Regions from separate parts of the Homo sapiens genome. Here all the other regions are linked to region 7. Evidence: promoter capture Hi-C in 16 types of primary human blood cells and fetal thymus (Javierre and others, 2016). All regions are on one chromosome and are shown on one strand. Each heading gives the region's core, a stretch centred on a gene start or on the middle of the fragment in contact. The rest is flanking DNA. Distances are from core to core; before and after follow the strand shown.

The links. Contacts are between HindIII fragments. The CHiCAGO score rates a contact against its expected background, and 5 or more counts as called.
Region 1: a fragment that was not itself captured here is called in contact with the fragment with the promoter of ZFAND4 in region 7 in 4 of 17 cell types (M2 macrophages, M0 macrophages, M1 macrophages and 1 more); the score reaches 9.2 in M2 macrophages.
Region 2: a fragment that was not itself captured here is called in contact with the fragment with the promoter of ZFAND4 in region 7 in 12 of 17 cell types (M0 macrophages, M1 macrophages, neutrophils and 9 more); the score reaches 19.5 in M0 macrophages.
Region 3: a contact is called between a fragment that was not itself captured here and the fragment with the promoter of ZFAND4 in region 7, in 7 of 17 cell types (total B cells, neutrophils, M2 macrophages and 4 more). The highest score is 8.0, in total B cells.
Region 4: a contact is called between a fragment that was not itself captured here and the fragment with the promoter of ZFAND4 in region 7, in 1 of 17 cell types (M1 macrophages). The highest score is 5.1, in M1 macrophages.
Region 5: a fragment that was not itself captured here is called in contact with the fragment with the promoter of ZFAND4 in region 7 in 6 of 17 cell types (M0 macrophages, M2 macrophages, neutrophils and 3 more); the score reaches 14.0 in M0 macrophages.
Region 6: a fragment that was not itself captured here is called in contact with the fragment with the promoter of ZFAND4 in region 7 in 2 of 17 cell types (M1 macrophages and erythroblasts); the score reaches 6.5 in M1 macrophages.

The regions. Positions count from the first base shown.
Region 1 is chr10:45,286,215-45,288,914 of GRCh38, reverse strand. No RefSeq gene overlaps it. Among named protein-coding and RNA genes, the nearest start is that of OR13A1, 28 kb to the left of the region's middle. The HindIII fragment of the contact is 3,231 bases long and covers 1-2,700 here.
Region 2 is chr10:45,238,276-45,240,975 of GRCh38, reverse strand. It overlaps the pseudogene CUBNP2. Among named protein-coding and RNA genes, the nearest start is that of MIR3156-1, 76 kb to the right of the region's middle. The HindIII fragment of the contact is 2,299 bases long and covers 204-2,502 here.
Region 3 is chr10:45,270,128-45,272,827 of GRCh38, reverse strand. No RefSeq gene overlaps it. Among named protein-coding and RNA genes, the nearest start is that of OR13A1, 44 kb to the left of the region's middle. The HindIII fragment of the contact is 3,844 bases long and covers 1-2,700 here.
Region 4 is chr10:45,325,146-45,327,845 of GRCh38, reverse strand. No RefSeq gene overlaps it. Among named protein-coding and RNA genes, the nearest start is that of OR13A1, 11 kb to the right of the region's middle. The HindIII fragment of the contact is 5,116 bases long and covers 1-2,700 here.
Region 5 is chr10:45,304,381-45,307,080 of GRCh38, reverse strand. It overlaps OR13A1 (olfactory receptor family 13 subfamily A member 1), which reads left to right. Exons shown (of 4, transcript NM_001004297.3): 4 at 2,647-2,700. The coding sequence starts at 2,659. Among named protein-coding and RNA genes, the nearest start is that of OR13A1, 9.9 kb to the left of the region's middle. The HindIII fragment of the contact is 4,346 bases long and covers 1-2,700 here.
Region 6 is chr10:45,214,986-45,217,685 of GRCh38, reverse strand. LOC105378283 (a long non-coding RNA gene) reads left to right here. Exons shown (of 6, transcript XR_001747443.2): 3 at 1,912-2,029. Among named protein-coding and RNA genes, the nearest start is that of MIR3156-1, 52 kb to the right of the region's middle. The HindIII fragment of the contact is 188 bases long and covers 1,321-1,508 here.
Region 7 is chr10:45,671,474-45,674,173 of GRCh38, reverse strand. ZFAND4 (zinc finger AN1-type containing 4) reads left to right here and starts at 1,402. Exons shown (of 10, transcript NM_174890.4): 1 at 1,402-1,924. RefSeq lists a silencer at 1,100-1,819. The HindIII fragment of the contact is 4,202 bases long and covers 1-2,187 here.

The DNA.
Region 1 (2,700 bases), core at 26-2,525, 390 kb after region 7:
AAAAAGTATCTGAGATAGGACTCAATCAATTTAGAGGTTTATTTGGCCAAGATTAAAGACCTTGACCCATGCACAGCCTCAGGAAGTCCTAAAAACATGTGCCTAAAGTAGTTGGGTTACAGCTTGGTTTTATACATTTTAGGGAGAGAGAAGTTACAGGCAAAGACATAAATCAATATACATAAGGTATATGTTGGTTTGGCCCAGAAAGGTGAGACATCTTGAAGCAAAGAGGGTGGAGATTCATGGTCATAAGTGGATTCAAAGATTCTCTGACAGGCAGTTGGTTGAAAGAGTTAAGCTCTGCTTTAAGAATTGAATTCAGCATAAAAAAATGCTTGAGTTTGTTAGAAGCATTTGAACCAGAGCAACTCCATCTTGAGTAGCAGCTGGGTAAAATAAGGCTAAAACCTATAGGCTGCATTCCCAGATAATTAGGCATTCTAAGACACAGGATAAGATAGGAGGCTAGCACAAAGATACAGCTCATAATGAGCTTGCTAATAAAACTTGCAGTAAAGAAGCTGGCTAAATCCCACCAAAACCAAGATGGCGATGATAGTGACCTCTGGTTGTCCTCACTGCTACACTCCCACTAGTGCCATGACAGTTTACATCCCTACATTGTAAACTGTCATGGCACTAGTGGGAGTGTAGCAGTGAGCTGGGCACATGCCTTTAATCCCAGCTACTCGGGACGCTAAGGCAGGAGTGTTCCTGGACCAAACTGAGGGTTGGGCTGCTATTTCCTGCTGCCAATAATGAGATGCAGATGAACTCGGGAGGAAGAGAGTTTTATTTTTTGCAACCAGTTACAGGGAGAAGGCCCAGAAATTTTCACCAGACCAACTCAAAATTACAAAGTTTTTCAGAGCTATATACCTTCCAAGCTATATGTCTACATGTAAGTGTTCCATGTGTCTTTTCATGCTTAGATCTGAGGCTACCTGTGGCATGTTCTTTTCATGGCTGAAGGTCATCCTGAAGACCTTCTTCTACAGCCTCATTAAGTTTACTTAATCTAAATGGGTCTAGGTGCTCGGGTGATTACCCTTATCTTGTCTCTTGCTAAATCACGGGGGTTTGGGAAGTTACTTCAGACCTCCAATAAACTTGATTGTGGAAGCCTGTGGAGTTTCTTCAGACCCCTAATAAAACTTGTTTAATCCTAAGGGGGTCCTGCTAAGAATTTCTTTGTTACTTTATCATGCTTTAAGGCCCAGGAAAGGCCTAGGCAAAACTCTTGATGGACTTTTGCTACATTCCAGCCTTTGTATAAGGGCACTGGCTTTTTTAGCTTTTTATATTTAACTTAACCACTCAGTCAGTACTGAAACAGTTGTGATGGATAACAGAGCAGGAGCATCACCATCTTGGACAAGCACCACCATTTTAAAGTTCACCTTGATTAAAAACTGCCTAAATCCAAAAAGCATCAGCCTAATGGCTAAGGTCAGCATGACCATAAACCACAAATGACATCTCTGACCAGAAACATTCCAACCATAAGGTAAACTCCTCCCAGACCAGAGACATGCCAGCCCTGAGATAACCTCCCCTCTGGCTGGAGAGATGTCAGCCCTGAGATAACCTCCTCTCCAACCAGAGATATTCCAATCCCACAATAGACTTCTCCTCACCCTAAAACCAATAAATACTCTTAGTCTGTAAGAGAGAGTGTTCCTGACTGAAATCGGTCAGAAGGCCCTCTCAGGTTTATTCTCCAAAATAAACCTGTCTTTGACTGTTGAGCCACTTTTTGTGTTTCTTTCCTCTTTCTTTAACTCTTACATTTGGTGCTGAAACCTGGGATGGGTGTTGGGGGTAGAGGCTGTGTTGCAACCCAGGAAGCAGTGGACAGCAGCTGCTCATCCCACTGCACCCACCCCATCTTGTCTCCTTTTTTTGAGCAATTTTTGAGCAATTTGTGTGGGGAGGACAATTAATCTGAAGGGGACTTCAAGGCTCAGGCTGGGGCTACCCTGCAGTGAGCCCTCAAAGCCCTCAGGTGCTGCAGACCCTGGTGGACTGAACAAAGGAGGATGAATGCAGGAATAAAGACAAAGACAAAAGAGTATGTTTGGATGAAGGGGTCAGGGGGCTCCTTGCTTCTAGTGAATAAGTGCCCTGGGCTTCTAGAGCCCTTCATATTTATTGAGTAAAAGAGATATGGAGCAGGGGGCAGTTGTTGGTCAGCTGCTTGATTTAGTGCAGGCCTGCATGACTGCCTTCTTAGAACAGTAGGCTCTAGATGTTCCAGTAGATAACTTTAAGGGGCATGGCACCCAGGAGCACAGCACCAGGGAGTGATTGCCCTCAGCATACCTTCTGGCAGCAGGTGCAGATGTGAGTTTGCCCACATCCTGCATTCATGATAAACAGTTTGCTGTTTGATCATATAGCCTCCAGTGGAATGCTGAGTTGGTCATGACCCTCAGGCTCTTGGCTCCCAACATCTCTCCCTTTCTGTTTTTGCATTAATTGAATGAATGTAACACCAGGCTGGACAGCTCTCATTTTCCAACTTGTGGACCATCTAATTTTACAGACTGTGAACAGAAAACAAGAGACATAACAGCATTATTCCCAGAACTATATATGAGATGTTAATGTGGTGCTTTAGATAGGCCCGAGGATTGAGGCTCTCCAGACCTTGCTGAAATTTGGTCCAGGCTTCTAAAGAAGGCTGAAACTCTTGAG
Region 2 (2,700 bases), core at 104-2,603, 430 kb after region 7:
ATGCTGAATTCCTCTGAGAGTGGAATTTAAATCTAAACCTCATCCCGATGCTCTCTAAACTGGCTTTGTTTCACCATACAAGAGGCTTCAGTAAGGTTTCCAAAAAGTTTGCTTGTTCCTCTACACCTGATCTGGAGTCGTATTTTTTGTTTTATTTTTTTTTCTCACTGCCTCTTTGATCAGGTCTTCATTCAAAATAAGCTTCCCAAGATGATTTGATCTTTGTAGCATAAACAAATGTACTGGTGTATGCAGCAGGCTTCTTTCCTTCTGTGGGAGGATTCTTTCCAGTGGGCTTCTGTTCAGCTGCTAGTTTCTTGGTAGCTGCAGCCTTTGTTCCCAACAAAACATCTTTTCTCACCTGCAACCCACCTCATCTGATTTGGCTTCTAGGGCTGCTGTCACCTTCTGCCCGGCCTGGTGAGGAAGGGTGTTCTGGCACATGGTCTTTGCCTATGGGTTTAGCTTCAACATGATTCTTGATGCAGTTTTATCATCCTGGAAAGCTCTCCCCTTTGGAATTCATCTAAATCCTTTATTAATCAATAGCCTTAACATGTAGTTTCATAAATAACACTCAGAGGAAGCTCATGCCTTTTCTAAAGGAATATTCCCATGACAGGAAACCAAAAGATGTATGTAGCAGGGAGGAAACGAAGAGACAAATACAGTATTCTTTGTGCCGGTCAGGTTACTCAACTTGGACCTACGTACCTCCCCCACCACGGAGATCCATATATTTATATGAAGTGTAAAGCAGAAAGAATGAGGAGAGTGGGATCTGGATGAAAGATGGAATAATCCCGTTAGGTTGGAGTCACAGTGCAACTAACTCTTAACTCACTCCAGCTTGAATGGACCATTATTGATCAGAGTCAACATTTGCCATTTGCCTGATAGATGCTGGGAAGCAAAGCCTTGCTTTCCAGCCATGGACAGTAAGAACTCTTCCTCCTCGCTGTCCTTCATTACTCCGTAGAATGGATCTGAAACTTCCTGTCCCATAAGCAAAGAAAGGAAACCACAGCTTAGGCCTGTAAAATGTAGCTCCGTCTGGCTCTCGGTGGGAAGACTGTGGGCATAGTTTATTGGCAGCTGGACCAGGAAGCCTCAGCATTCCATTCTTGTGAACTGCCGTAGGAACAGAAATGTCTGACTGAGGATTCTGTGTTACTACCAAGTGAGGGCCGAGCTCTAGACCATGCCTGGAATCTGCGATTGTTTTCATGCCTTCACCTCCCCTTCCAGGATCCTCTGATGTCGCAGGGATGCCCGCTGCTCTCGGTGGCCCCATTCCTCCTAGGAGACGAAAGTGAATAAGACAAGTTGTTGGCAGTGTCCGTGAAAATTAGTATCTCACTGCTCCTCTCAGAGCAACGCCATTTTAAAAGAGGACCCCTGGGTGAAAACACCCAAACTCAAGGGTATGGTGCTGGAAGGTCTTAAATATGGCAGCCCTCCTATCTACTAGTGGATAACTGGCTACTCTGTCATGGCAAGTCTACTTTATTTAAACACTTAGCAGAATAATCCCTGAAGCACTAGAAAGGCATTAGTCTCTCCCATGGGCTACTACATAGACCTAAAAGGAATCTCACCTGATCAACACAGCCCAGCAAGATTAGACTGTCTTAACTCTGTGACTTAAGATACCAGCAATTAACCAAATTTTAAATCATGGAATTACAAAGGGAAGAGAGGAACTTCCAGTGTTTTGAATACATGGATCAGTAAAATCAGCATTTCTACATGTCAGGCTGGTTCCAACATACATTGCCTGTGTAACGTTTCCTTTAGAAGCGTCGAGAGCCCTCCTGGAAGCAGGTCTAGTTGTGAATGCAGGGTAGGAGCCAGGCTGGGGGACAGAAAATGGTTGAATTCACAGTGTGGTTCTCTCTTCCCTCAAAACACCAACTCATTTCCTGTTTTTATATGTGTCTATTCAAAAATGAGGAGTTGAAACAAAAAAGCAACAAGGCCTCGGAATGTGTTTTTAAAACACGTTTAACAACAGTCAGAAGTTGTATAGATTTATAATTCTGTCCTTCACCCATACAGAAATTCCTTTTGTTCTGAACTTTATTATACTTTGCATTGTATTTTCTTCGTAGCCCCTTTACAGCCAAGTAATTTTCAATGGGAAACCCGTGTGCGCGCGCACTCATACACACACACACACACACTATGAAAAATGTATAATAGTTGACTGGAAACAGGGCAGGCAACATTGCCCCCACCCATCCCCACCCTTTAAAAATTCACTTTACCTACATTCTTCCAAATGTTTCCCCAAAAGCAAAGGCTGCAGGATCATAGCAAAAACTATTATATAAAAAAGCAGCCTGATGTTTTAATTGCTACAGGTTAACAGATATTTCTGAATCCAAATACAAATGTTTTTTGATCTACACATGGAACATTTTTCCCCTTTGCAAGTGAAGATGACTTCTGCATGTATTTTCAGAAAACCCTTCATTCTTATGTATATAAAAAGACAAAGCTTTTCCAAAAAGTGTCATCATTCAAATTGTCTCACAGTGTAATGTATATACATTGGAGAAGAAAGTGTAAGTTTAATAATGAATGACTCCTTCCTAAAGGTGAGAAATGGAAGTAACAGCAATTCACCATTACTTGGCAAGTACTCTGCTGCCAAACCCTGTCTTCTCTCAAAATAATGAACTATACCTATGATTTAAG
Region 3 (2,700 bases), core at 74-2,573, 400 kb after region 7:
CTTTTTTTCTAAAAGTTTTACAATTTTATGTTGTACATTTAAGAACATAAACTATTTTTGAGTTAGCTTTTGTATAAAATATGAGACAGGTGAAGTTCTTTTTTGTGTATGTATGTGTGTATGTGTGTGTGTGTGTTTATGTGTGTGTGTGAGTGTGCCTATAAAAGTACAATTGCTCTAGCACCAATTTGGATGCCCTTTATATCTTTCTCTTGTCTGATTGCTCTAGCTAGGACTTTCAGTAATATGTTGAATAACGGTTGTGACAGTGGGCAGCCTTGTCTTGGTCTGCATCTTAGAAGACAAATTTTCAGTTTTTCCTCATTTAGTATGATACTACCCTGTGGGTGTCTGTTATTTATGGCTTTTATTATGTTAAGGTATATTCCTTATATAGACAGTTTTTTAAAGGGTTTTTATCATGAAGGATGTTAAAATTTTATCAAATCCTTTTCAGCATCAATTGACATGATCATATGTTTTTGTCCTCCATTCTGTTAATATGATGTGTCACATTAATTGATTTGCATATTTTGAACCATCCTTGTATCCCTGAGATAAATACTACTTCATCATGAGAAAAGATCTTTTTAATGTGCTGTTGAATTCAGTTTGCTAGTATTTTGTTGAGGATTTTTGCATCAATATTCATCAGACATATTGGCTGTACTTTTCTCTCTTTTTTTGATGCATTTTTGTCTGGTTTCATATCAAGGTAATACTGGCCTGGTAGAATGAGTGTGGAAGTATTCCTTCCTCCTCTATATTTTTTGAAATAGTTTGAATAGGATTGGTATTTGTTCTTCTTTAAATGTTTGGTAGAATTCGACTGTGAAGCCATCAGGTCCTGGGCTTCTCTTTTTTATATTTATTTATTTATTTATTTTATTATACTTTAAGTTCTAGGATACATGTGCACAACGTGCAGGTTTGTTACATAGGTATACATGTGCCATGTTGGTTTGCTGCACCCATCAACTCGTCATTTACATTAGGTATTTCTCCTAATGCTATCCCTCCCCCAGCCCACCACCCCTTGACTGGCCCCAGTGTGTGATTTTCCCTGCCCTGTGTCCATGTGTTCTCATTGTTCAACTCCCACCTATGAGTGAGTACATGTGGTGTTTGGTTTTCTGTCCTTGTGACAATATGCTTAGAATGATAGTTTCCAGCTTCATCCATGTCCCTGCAAAGGACATGAACTCATCCTTTTCTATGGCTGCATACTATTCCATAGTGTATATGTGCCACATTTGCTTTATCCACTCTATCATTGATTGGCATTTGGGTTGGTTCCAAGTCTTTGCTATTGTGTATAGTGCCACAATAAACATACATGTGCATGTGTCTTTATAGTTGCATGATTTATAATCCTTTGGGTATATACCCAGTAATGGGATTGCTAGGTCAAATGGTATTTCTAGTTCTAGATCCTTGAGGAATCACCACACTGTCTTCCACAATGGTTGAACTAGTTTACACACCCACCAACATTGTAAAGGCATTCCTATTTCTCCACATCCTGTCCAGCATCTGTTGTTTGCTCACTTTTTAATGATTGCCATTCTAATTGGCCTGAGATGGTATCTCATTGTGGTTTTGATTTGCATTTCTCTGATGACCAGTGATGATAAGCACTTTTTTCATACGTCTGCTGGCTGCATAAATATCTTCTCCTGAGAAGTGTCTGTTCATATTCTTTGCCCACTTTTTGATGGGGTTGTTTTTTTCTTGTAAATTTAAGTTCTCTGTAGATTCTGGATATTAGCCCTTTGTCAGATGAGTAGATTGCAAAGATTTTCTCCCATTCTGTAAGTTGCCTGTTCACTCTGATGGTAGTTTCTTTTGCTGTGCAGAAGCTCTTTAGTTTGGTTAGATCCCATTCATCTATTTTGGCTTTTGTTCCCATTGCTTTTGGTGTTTTAGTCATGAAGTCTTTGCCCATGCCTATGTCCTGAATGGTATTGCCTAGGTTTTCTTCTAGGGTTTTTACAGTGTTAAGTCTTAAAGTTAAGTCTTTAATCTATCTTGAGTTAATTTTTGTATATGGTGTAAAGAAAGCATTGAGTTCCAGCTTTCTACATATGGCTAGCCAGTTTTCCCAGCACCATTTACTAAATAGGAAATCCTTTCCCCATTTCTTGTTTTTGTCAGGTTTGTCAAAGATCAGATGGTTGTAGATGTGTGGTGTTATTTCTGAGGCCTCTGTTCTGTTCCATTGGTCTATATATCTGTTTTTCTACCGGTACCATGCTGTTTTGGTTACTGTAGCCTTGTAGTATAGTTTGAAGTCAGGTAGCGTGATGCCTCCAGCTTTGTTCTTTTTGATTAGGATTGTCTTGGCTATGTGGGTTCTTTTTTGGTTCCATATGAACTTTTAAGTGTTTTTTTTTTTTCCAATTCTGTGAAGAAAGTCTGTGGTAGCTTGATGGGGATAGCACTGAATCTATAAATTACCTTGGGCAGTATGGCCATTTTTATGATATTGATTCTTCCTACCCATGAGCATGGAGTGTTCTTCCATTTGTTTGTGTCCTCTTTTATTTCATTGAGCAGTGATTTGTAGTTCTCCTTGAAGAGGTCCTTCACATCCCTTGTAAGTTGGAATCCTAGGTATTTTATTCTCTTTGTAGTAAATGTGAATGGGAGTTCACTCATGATTTCGCTCTCTGTTTGTCTATTATTGGTGTATAGGAATGC
Region 4 (2,700 bases), core at 148-2,647, 350 kb after region 7:
CAGAAAGCTGAAACTAGATCCCTTCCTTCCACTGTATACAAAAATTAACTCAAGATGGGCTAAAGACTTAAATGTAAGACCTAAAACCATAAAAACCCTAAAAGAAAACATAGGTAATACCATTCAGGACATAGGCATGGGCAAAGACTTCATGACTAAAACACAAAAAGCAATGGCAACAAAAGCCAAAATTGACAAATGGGATCTAATTAAACTAAGGAGCTTCTGCACAGCGAAAGTAACTACCATCAGAGTGAACAGGCAACCAACAGAATGGGAGAACATTTTTGCAATCTATCCATCTAACAAAGGGCTAATATCCAGAATCTACAAAGAACTTAAACAAATTTACAAGAAAAAACAAACAATTCCATCAAAAAGTGGGTGAAGGATAAGAAAAGACTCTTCTCAAAAGAAGACATTTATGCAGTCAACAAGCATAGGAAAAAAAGCTCATCATCACTGGTCATTAGAGAAGTGCAAATCAAAAACACAATGAGATACCATTTCATGCCAGTTAGAATGGCCATCATTAAAAAGTCAAGAAACAACAGATACTAGAGAGCATGTGGAGAAATAGGACCACTTTTACACTGTTGGTGGGAGTGGAAATTAGTTCAACCATTGTGGAAGACAGTGTGGTGATTCCTCAAGAATCTAGAACTAGAAATACCACAATAGCAAAGACTTGGAACCAACCCAAATGCCCATCAATGATAGACTGGATAAAGAAAATCTGGCACATATACACCACAGAATACTATGCAGCCATGAAAAATGATGAGCTCATGTCCTTTGCAGAGACATGGATGAAGGTGGAAACCATCATTCTCAGCAAACTAACACAAGAACAGAAAACCAAACACCACATGTTCTCACTCATAAGTGGGAGTTGAACAATGAGAACACATGGACACGGGTTGGGGGGGTATCACACACTGGGGCCTGTTGGGCTATGGGGGGCTGGGGAGGGATAGCATTAGGGGAAATACCTAATGTAGATGACAGGTTGATGGGTGCAACAAACCACCATGGCACATGTATATCTATGTAACAAACCTGCACATTCTGCACATGTACCCCAGAATTTAAAGTATAATAAGAAAAATAAAAATAAATAAGTTAAAAGAGATTAAAAAAATAAAAGAGAACATTTGCCACATTCAGTCTTTCTAGATGGAAAGAGGTTGCTGACATATGATAGAATTAGAAAATCACACATCTTGTAAATTCTCATTTGTTTAAAAAGAAATCATACAAATTAGATGTTTTTTGGAGATGACTTTTTAAAATAGAGTCGTTAGATCACCTCTGTAAGGGATATGTCTATATCTGTTCAGTGGGTTAGGGGACATGGATCTGGAAAGCCTGAGAAGAAAAAGAAGGTTCTATACCAGACTTGTGATATTTAGACATTTTCATATTCTATCCATTGTTTTGTGTGCATTTTATTCCTCACTATTGTATATATAGTTGACAATGCTAAACTTTTTTGTGTATTCTTTCTATGTGTTCCGAATGCCTAATATATGTCAAAATTAGCGGTAGTAAAATAATATTTTGTAAATATCTTTTTGCTAAAATTCATATGAAATGTTGTTTTTGGAGGGGAATGGCCAAACTACCTGTTGAGTAATACTCATCGTGTTTGTGTCCTGGTTCAGGGGAGGAGGAAGGAGGGGAAAGTGCAGAGAGCTCTATGCCGCTGTGTTTACAGTGAGGCAAGATTAACCATTATCTCTTATGTCTGTGCATTTTGTTTTACTTATCTGTTTATGTAGTGTATATAAAGGACAAACGAGTCCTAATTTACAACATCTAGTCTTTTTAGATGTTAAAGAGGTTGCCAGTGTATAACAAAAGTAGAGTTAGTAAACTAATATATTTTGTATATTTTGTTTTAAAATTCCTAGGAAAGATTGTCTTCCTATCTTTGAGCATTCTTGCGCACTGAGTTGATGGAGATGGGAGGGATTCTAAGCTAGGATGTTCTTATTTGGAAGACTCTTTCAAATTATAACTATGGTTACATGTATGCAGTTTATTCGAGACTGCTGTGTATATAGTGGACAAATTAACTCCTTACTTGAAACACCTAGTTTATCTAGATGTTTAGAAGTGCCTGATGTACGTTAAATGTAGAGGTAATAAAATACCACTTTGTAAATATCTTTTTGCTAAAATTCATAGGAAATACTGTCTTTTAGAAATTTAATTGTTAAGCCACCTTTGTGAGCAGTATAGTACTGTCTATACTTGTTCAATGGTTTAGAGGAGGTGGGAGGGAAGAAAAATATGTGACTGACTTATTTCACTAAGCCTAATGTCTTTAAGTTTCATTCATGTTGTGGCATGTGTCAGAATTTCCTTCCTTTTTAAAGCTGAATAATATTGCATTGTATAGATATATTACCTTTTATTTATCCATTTATCCATCAATAGAAACTTGGGTTGCTTCCATATTTTAGCTATCATGAATATTGCTGCCATCAACATGTTGAGTTCCTGTATTCAACTCTTTGGGTAATACCCAGAAGTGAAATTGCTGAATAAGTATGGTAATTCTCTGTTAAATTTTTGAGGAGCTGCTGATTCATACTTTTACGTATAAAATATTAGACCTTAAATGTATTATGTAAAAACACTAAGTATTTTTAACATTCTAGAGTAAAGAAGGTGTTTCTTAGCAAGACAGAAAAG
Region 5 (2,700 bases), core at 201-2,700, 370 kb after region 7:
GCTAGAATTCTAGGGAGGAGGACATGAGTCGGAAGTGCAGAAACCTCACACTGGGACATTGATGGAGAAAATCCAATTCTGTCCCTGGAGTTAAAGAGGAGTCACTCACTGGGCCATCATAAGAGCAAATAAAGTTACAGTTATTTCTTCAGATCCACAACTCAAACTCAGCGAAAGTAATTATTCACTCTTTTTGTCCCAAACAATAATGAAATCAGCTAAAGCATATTGTATTTATTACTTCCACTCAAGTTATTGAGCTGTTCTGACACCTTGTTGCTGGGAAGATACACAGATGGAACACCATCATTTCCATTGATTCTGATCATACCCCACGCTAATATAGCCTTATTGCTCTGAGTCATAGGGATTTTATGCTTGCCTATTCAAAAAACAGTTTTTACCTTATTAAAAGGTGATATGACCTGAGCTGGAGATGATGTTTGGTCATTTTGTGTAAACCTTTTAATATTTTAGTGGTAAATACATTTCTTGAATCTTGACAAAAACATAATTAAAATGAACATATTTAAAATGGACATCTTCCAAATGTTCATTTTTAAAACAAACATCTTCCAAATGTTCATTTTTAAAATGAATATCTTCGTTAACTTTTTTTTTTTTTTTTGAGACGGAGTCTCGCTCTGTCACCCAGGCTGGAGTGCAGTGGCGCGATCTCGGCTCACTGCAAGCTCCGCCTCCCGGGTTCACGCCATTCTCCTGCCTCAGCCTCCAGAGTAGCTAGGACTACAGGCGCCCGCCACCACGCCCGGCTAATTTTTGTATTTTTAGTAGAGACGGGGTTTCACCGTGTTAGCCAGGAAGGTCTCGATCTCCTGACCTTCTGATCCACCCTCCACGGCCTCCCAAAGTGCTGGGATTACAGGCGTGAGTCACCACGCCCAGCCTCTTCCTTAACTTTTAATGAATAAAGAGTTGAAAGGGAAAAACCAAATGTGCACTATGCTGATTTTATCTTGAGCTGTACAGAATGTGCAGTAACTTAAGAATATAAGTCATTCTGCTGTTATTCATACTAGCCTATTCTTTAGCATTATTTAAACACACATATTTGAGTGTCTACACACTGCCTGCTAGGCAGGGGGCTGGGTGCCAAGAAGGGATGTCCAGAGATAAACGGGCATATGTGTTAATCTTTTAGGGCACAGTCCAGTAACCTGATCAAGGAGTGACGTGTATTGTGTACTAGGATAGAAGTCAGTATCAGAGGAAACACAAAGGAAAGAGTGGTACTTTCTCCCCAGGGAAGGGATGCTCAGAAAGAGGGGGCTGATTATGTCCCTGGTTCATGAGAAAAAGGGCATTCCTGGCTCAGGGAGTGGGAAGAACAAAACCAAGAAATCCTGGAATGGCTTGGTGCATCAGCCAGTCTGTGAGTGCAGGGCATGGCTGGAGTTCTGGCTTTAAGATGAGTGGGAAGAAAGGCTGGAGAGGAGGTGGATCCAGGAAAAGTTGCTGGGAGCATTTATTCTTTTGGCAATGGGAAGCCATGGAAGAACTGTTGTAAGGAGGATTCTGTGTGATACATCTGCCTTTTAGAGAGGTCATTTTATAGAAAAAGTAGAAAATACAGACCAGCAAAAATTTAAAAAGTGAAAACAATCACTGTTCAAGCTCTGGTCTAGCACTCACCAGTGTTTTTCCTACAGGTGCATATACAAACATGCTTTTACATTTTATTTTTATTTTAAATTTTTCACTATCCTCAATATCAGTGGAAACAAATCTGCTTTTTTAATTTTTTTTTTAAAAATGAGATCCTATTGTACACATTATTTTAAATTTTTTTTCATTCTTTCCTTTTTTTAAAATTAAAACAATTTTTTTTGAGACAGTCTCACTCTGTCGCCCAGGCTAGAGTGCAGCATCGTGGTCTCAGCTCACCGAAACCTTGCCTCCCAGGTTCAAGCGATTCTCCTGCCTCAGCCTTCCAAGTAGCTGGGATTACAGACATCCACCACCACCGTGTCAGGTTAATTTTTGTATTTTTAGTAGAGAATGGGGTTTCACCATTTTGGACAGGCTGGTCTTGAATTCCTGGCTTCAAGTGATCTGCCTGCCTCGGCCTCCCAAAGTGTCATTCTCCTTTTAAAAGCATCAGTAAAACACTTCCAAAGCATTACTTTGATAATTAGACAGCATTTATATCAATTTACCATAATATACTCACGTTTAAGGGTATAGATTGTTTTAAATTTCCACTATTATAAATAGTGCTGCTCTGACACCTTCAGGATGCTTTTTATTATTCCTTAGGATACATTTCTGGAAGAGGAAGTTCCGGCTCAAATGGAATACATATTTTAAAAGGCCTGCATCTTTGCAGCCATTCTAATGCTAGTTAATATCATGCTTTTCTAACTTTGCCAGATCATGGATGATGAAGACTAGATCATGGATTTAATTTGCATTTGTTTGAGGTTGAATGATGCTTCATGAGTTTAACTGGCCAACTGTATTTATTTTTTATAAACTGAGTGTTCACGCCTTTTTTCTACTGTAATATTGGGGTGTTTATCTTAATCAATATGCCCTAATGCATCTCTATCTTTCATGCAGTGATGTGAGGTGTGGAAGAAACACGGGAGCAGCCTTCCTCAGGACACCTCTTGTTTATCTCTCTAGCTCTGAAATCACATGAAGCTGTGGATGGAGAGTCACCTGATAGTCCCAGAAACC
Region 6 (2,700 bases), core at 165-2,664, 460 kb after region 7:
TATGGTGCTGGAAAAGATTGTGTTGGGGAAATATTGGTTCATGTATCAAACAGAATAAACGCGAATTACATTAAATGGTAGTTTTAGTTATAGTACCCATACCTCATAAATATCCTTTTTATTTCATCTATTTCTCTGCATATACATTAATTATTCCTTTGGACTCTGTGTAGCTTATAATTTTAAGGGTGAGGTCAAATGAAAGGCACACATCAGAACGGGCAATTACTTGCAACGGGGGTTTGGCCTCATGGTTTTTCAGGACATAGTGCAGACCAGAGAATGGTAATATGGTTTGCAATCTCAATATTTGAATGGTAGTCTATGTAACTTGGTTTTCTTAACAGCTGTAAGTGAGGCCGGGTGCAGTGGCTCACACCTGCAATCCCAGCCCTTTGGGAGGCCAAGGTGGGTGGATCACCTGAGGTCAGGAGTTTGAGACCACCCTGACCAACATGGTGAAACCCCGTCTCTACTAATAATATGAGAATTAGCTGTGCATGATGGCCCATGCCTGTAATCCGAGCTGCTTGGGAGGCTGAGACAGGAGAATCACTTGAACCCGAGAGATGGAGGCTACAGTGAGCTAAGATCACGCCATTTCACTCCAACCTGGGTGACAAGAGTGAGACTCTGTTTCAAAATAAATGAACAAATAATAAAACAGCTGTAAGTGCTTAAGTCTTTAGGCCGTGTCAAAGATACCTATATGATTTATTATATATTTGTATTCTATAAAGTTGTTCACCCTTTGTTAGGAGGATGAAAATAATAGATAATATGATCGAAATAACATGCCATATATGCATGGGGTGTATTAATACACACACACATTTACTATGTCCCAGGCATTGTGCTAAGCCCTCTGTATGGATTAATCTTTCAAACCTCACAGTTTAATTGTTATTATCTAATAGGTAAGGAAACAGATTTAGAGAGCTTCATTAACTTGCTCAAAGTCACCCAGAAAATAAGTGGTAGAGCCCAGATTTGAACCCACACCAGCAGACTTCAGAAGCAGTGTTCTTAGCTTATCCTGTTTCGCCTTACTCATTTCTGACAGTCATATACACATACCCTGTGGAAGAGAAGAAGATGAACAGCTAATTCAGCGAGCACGCTGAGTGCCTGTGGCCATCTGGTCATGTTCTAGAAGCTATGGTAGCTACCCTGTCTGGGCTAATGATTCTGTATCAATTTAGGAATGCATTCAGGGACGCAACCTACCTATCTTGATACCATTTGAACCAAGGAAACAGGAACCTTCATCTTCTGAAAATACTTACACATAGTTTTTAAAAAATCCTACTCCAAAAAGCTTTACTGAAGTATTCACATAGATAAGTGCATATATGACAGTACAAGTTGACAGATTTTCAAAGCAAGAAACGTTAGTAGGTTGGGAGCTCCTGCTCTTCCCAATCACTCTCCCTTTAAGTCATGAGACTGCCAGCATCGTGAGCTTATACTGGTAGTTCCAATGGAAATACATAACAGACTGCAAAGCTTTTATTTAACTCCTTCTATGCCTCATCTGGGCCTTCTCCCTTCCTCTCAGAACCCTGCCTCTCACAGATTTTGGTGATGATAGAATTAGAACATCTCACAATCACGTGTTTGGTACCCAACACACAATTAACAATACTAATTTTACTAATGTCAGTATTGCTAAAAACAATTGTTTTATGCATATGCTATCTTCATTCTCCCTCTTTGAAAAAAAATAGGCTTTTTTTTTAAGAGCACTTTTTGATTTACAGAGAACTGGAGCAGGAAGTACAGATTCACATCTCTCCTCCATCTCCCCTTCCTAGTTTTCCATATTAACATCTTGCATTGGTGTGTTACATTTGCTATGATTGCTGAACCAATATTGATGCATTATTGTTTTTATTTTTATTTTTGAAACAGCGTCTCGCTCTGTCACCCAGGCTGGAGCGCAATGGTGCGATCTCGGCTCACTACAACTTCTGCCTCCCAGGTTCCAGTGATTCTCCTGCCTCAGCCTCCCAAGTAGCTGGGATTACAGGTATGCGCTATCACGCCCAGCTCATTTTTTTTTTTGATTTTTAGTAGAGACGGGGTTTCACCATGTTGGCCTGGCTGTTGATGCATTATTATTAACTAAAGTTTATAGCTAACATCAAGATTCACTCTATATAGTATAGTTTTATGGGTTTTGACAAATTAACATCATGTATTCACCATTACAGTATCATATGGAACAGTTTCACTGCCCTAAAAATCCTCTCAGCTCTACCTCTTCATCCCCTCTCCCTCATTATCTACCTCCTAAATCTCAGACAACCACTGAAATATTACAGTTTGCCTTTGTCTCTATAATTTTACCCTTTCCAGAATGTCATATAGTTGGAATCATACAGTATAAGGTCTTTACAGATTGGCTACTTTTGCTTAGCAATATGCATTTAAGATTCCTCCATGCCTTTTGTGGTTTGATAACTCATTTCTTTTTAGCAGTGAATAATACTCAGTTGTCTGGATGTACCACACTGTGCTTATCCATTCACCTGTTGGATGACATTTTGGCAGCTTTTAAATTTGGACAATTATGAATAAAGCTGTTGTAAACATTCTTGTGCAGATTTTGGGTGAATACCTAGGAATGTGATTACTGGATCATGTGATAAGACTATGTTTAGCTTTGGAAGAAACTATCAAACTGTCATCTCAAGTGGC
Region 7 (2,700 bases), core at 153-2,652:
ACTTTGCAGGATTGTGATGGGGAGAGAATACGTAAAGACCCTTATCAACTATCTGGCACTTGAAGAATGGCAGATGATAATGATGATGATGTTGTAAAGAATGAATGACTTGGCCAGGTAATGGAGCTTCTGGTATTGGGAGGCAAGGCTTTAAACACACCTGCCTGACTCCACGGTCCATGCTGTCAATTCTCCAGTGTGAATGAAGTGGGCAGGCAAGGGTGAGAAACGCTAAGGTTTTTACTCAGTAAGTCTCCATCACAGGCCCTATTCTAGGCTCAGGAATGCAAAGATGATTACCATCATAGCTCTGTCCTCAAAGGTCTCCAATCTATTTAGCATTAAGCATATGTGGAGTTTCAGAAGGAACCAACGGCGAGACTGGTGAATCAATGCCCAGTGCCTCACCATACTCCCCCAGTGTATGCTCAATAGTTCGTTGAACTGTGGAGATAAGTTGGTGGGTAGGGTCTCAGAAGAATGAGAGAGGACAGGAGACACAGATTAGATGTTTAGTTTCATATTAGACTGGCTCCTCTGAGCCAGAAGTCGAGGATGAGTGAACCCGCAGTGGGAGTGAGATGACATTCTTTGTCAGCTGAGTAACCCACTTAGTGAAGGAGGTTCACGGAGTTGGAAAATCGGTAGGGGGAACGGAACGAGGCAGTGGGCTCCCATGTTAGGTTGAAAGGCAGGTGTTGGCTTGAAGCCAGTTACTGTTTACACCGCAGCTCAGCAGCTTGGAAACTGGAGCAGGAGGTGTGGCTGGGCTTACCCAACGCTGGGATTTGAGCCCAGGGTGCCTACTCCATTGCCTGGCCTACAGTTCTCAGTAAATTGTATGAGGACTACAGAAAGTTATCTGTTTTCGCCTTTGTCTTCAAGCAGGCACGGTAATGCCCCCATTTTCCAGATGAGGCAATTGAGGCCAGAAACATTAGGGGACGGTGAAGCCTAAAGCAGATTTGTTAGGACAGGCCGGCCCAAACGCACCAGGAGCGCCCCTCACTCTGGAGAGGCCACCGACTGGACAGCGTCTGCCTGTATCGCCTATCTCCAGCAAATCAGGCGCCTGGAAGAGGATCCCCGGTGGGTCTCACGGAGGGCGGCTCCGGCTTCAACCCCGCCGTTCCCAGCAGGCCATGCGGCTGCCCTCCAGACGCCCGCGTGGGCACGAGTCAGGGGTCCAGTGTTGCTAGTAATAAAAGATCAACATCCGGGCCTCGTAACTCACAACCTCCAGCGAATGCCAAGAAGGCCCCAGGGCCCTGGCGCCCCGGCAACCGCCCACGTCCGGGGGCCAGGCCTGCCCCCGCCCGCGCTGATTGGAGGGCAGCGAAAGCGCCGTCCAGCGATTGGTAGGTGGTGTCACAAAGGGGCGGGGCGCGGCGGCAGCGGAGCGTTGTCGGCCAGTGCCTTCCGTGAAGTTGCTCGCCGGGTCGTTGGGCCCTGTCGACCTGTAGGCGGGCGAGCGAGCCAGCGGACAAGACTGCGGGTGAGGCTGAGCTAGCGAGCGGCCGGCAGGGGGGGCGCCCGGGCTGCGAGCCGCTGAGCCCAGCCGCGCTGCCGCCGCCGGCCGTCGTGGGGCCGGAATGGCGCAAGGCCGGAGTGGCGCGGGCGCTCGGCGCTGGGCTGCCGGGTAGAGTCCTGTCCCCGCCCCTCGCCTTGCGGCCTGACGCCGGCCGCTGCTGCCCGGGGACCGGAGCGGCGGGCCGCCTTTGCCCAGGACACACGCTCTGGCGTTTGTTCCTTTGGGCGTGACGCCAGCTTCAACGGGTACGCGGCTTTCCCGACGGGTGCTGATCTCCGAGTCGCTGTTGTCACGCGGACTGCTGTCCTCCAGATTCAGGCCGGTGGGTCTGGGGAGCCCGGATTGGTCTTGGAGGAGCAACGGCTGCGCAGGTGACTCGGTGGCCTCAAGTGTGTAGGTACCTGGATGGCGCGAGGAGATGCTGGCTCTGAAATACTTCCCAATTCCGCTTGCAGATGAACTCCGGACTAGAGTTTAGGCTACAGACAAGTTAGGCGGTTGATGTGATTCTGTAGCTCGTATTTCGAACTTTAGGGATGTTTTGATGTATCAGTAAATGTAGATCTGTGTCACAGTTTTAATGGCAGCTTCACATTCCGGATATCTTTATGTTGGGGAAAATGTTTCAAAGGTAACTGCTCTTCTGTAGCTAAGCTTCTTTAGAGCAGAGGTTGGAGAAAATTCTGAGTTACTGAAATTACGTATTCAGCGCTATTGCCTGTTTACCTTTAACTTCCATTTCATCCTTGGAGTTGTGTTTTTAGAAACTTTTCAGAAGAAATGAGAGAAATGCTTTGGGAATTGATTTTTTTTTTTTTTTTAAGTTCTAGGGTACATGTGCACAACGTGCAGGTTTGGTACATAGCTATACATGTGCCATGTTGGTTTTCTGCACCGACTAACTCGTCATTTATATTGCGTATTTCTCTTAATGCTATCCCTCCCCCCATCTCACTCCCCACGACAGGCCCCAGTGTGTGATGTTCCCCTCCCTGTGTCCAAGTGTTCTCATTGTTGAGTTCCCATCTATGAGTGAGAACATGGCGGTGTTTGGTTTTCTGTCCTTGTGACAGTTTGCTGAGAATGATGGTTTCCAGCTTCATCCATGTCCATGCAAAGGACATGAACTCATCCTTTTTTTATGGCTGCATAGTATTCCATGGTGTATA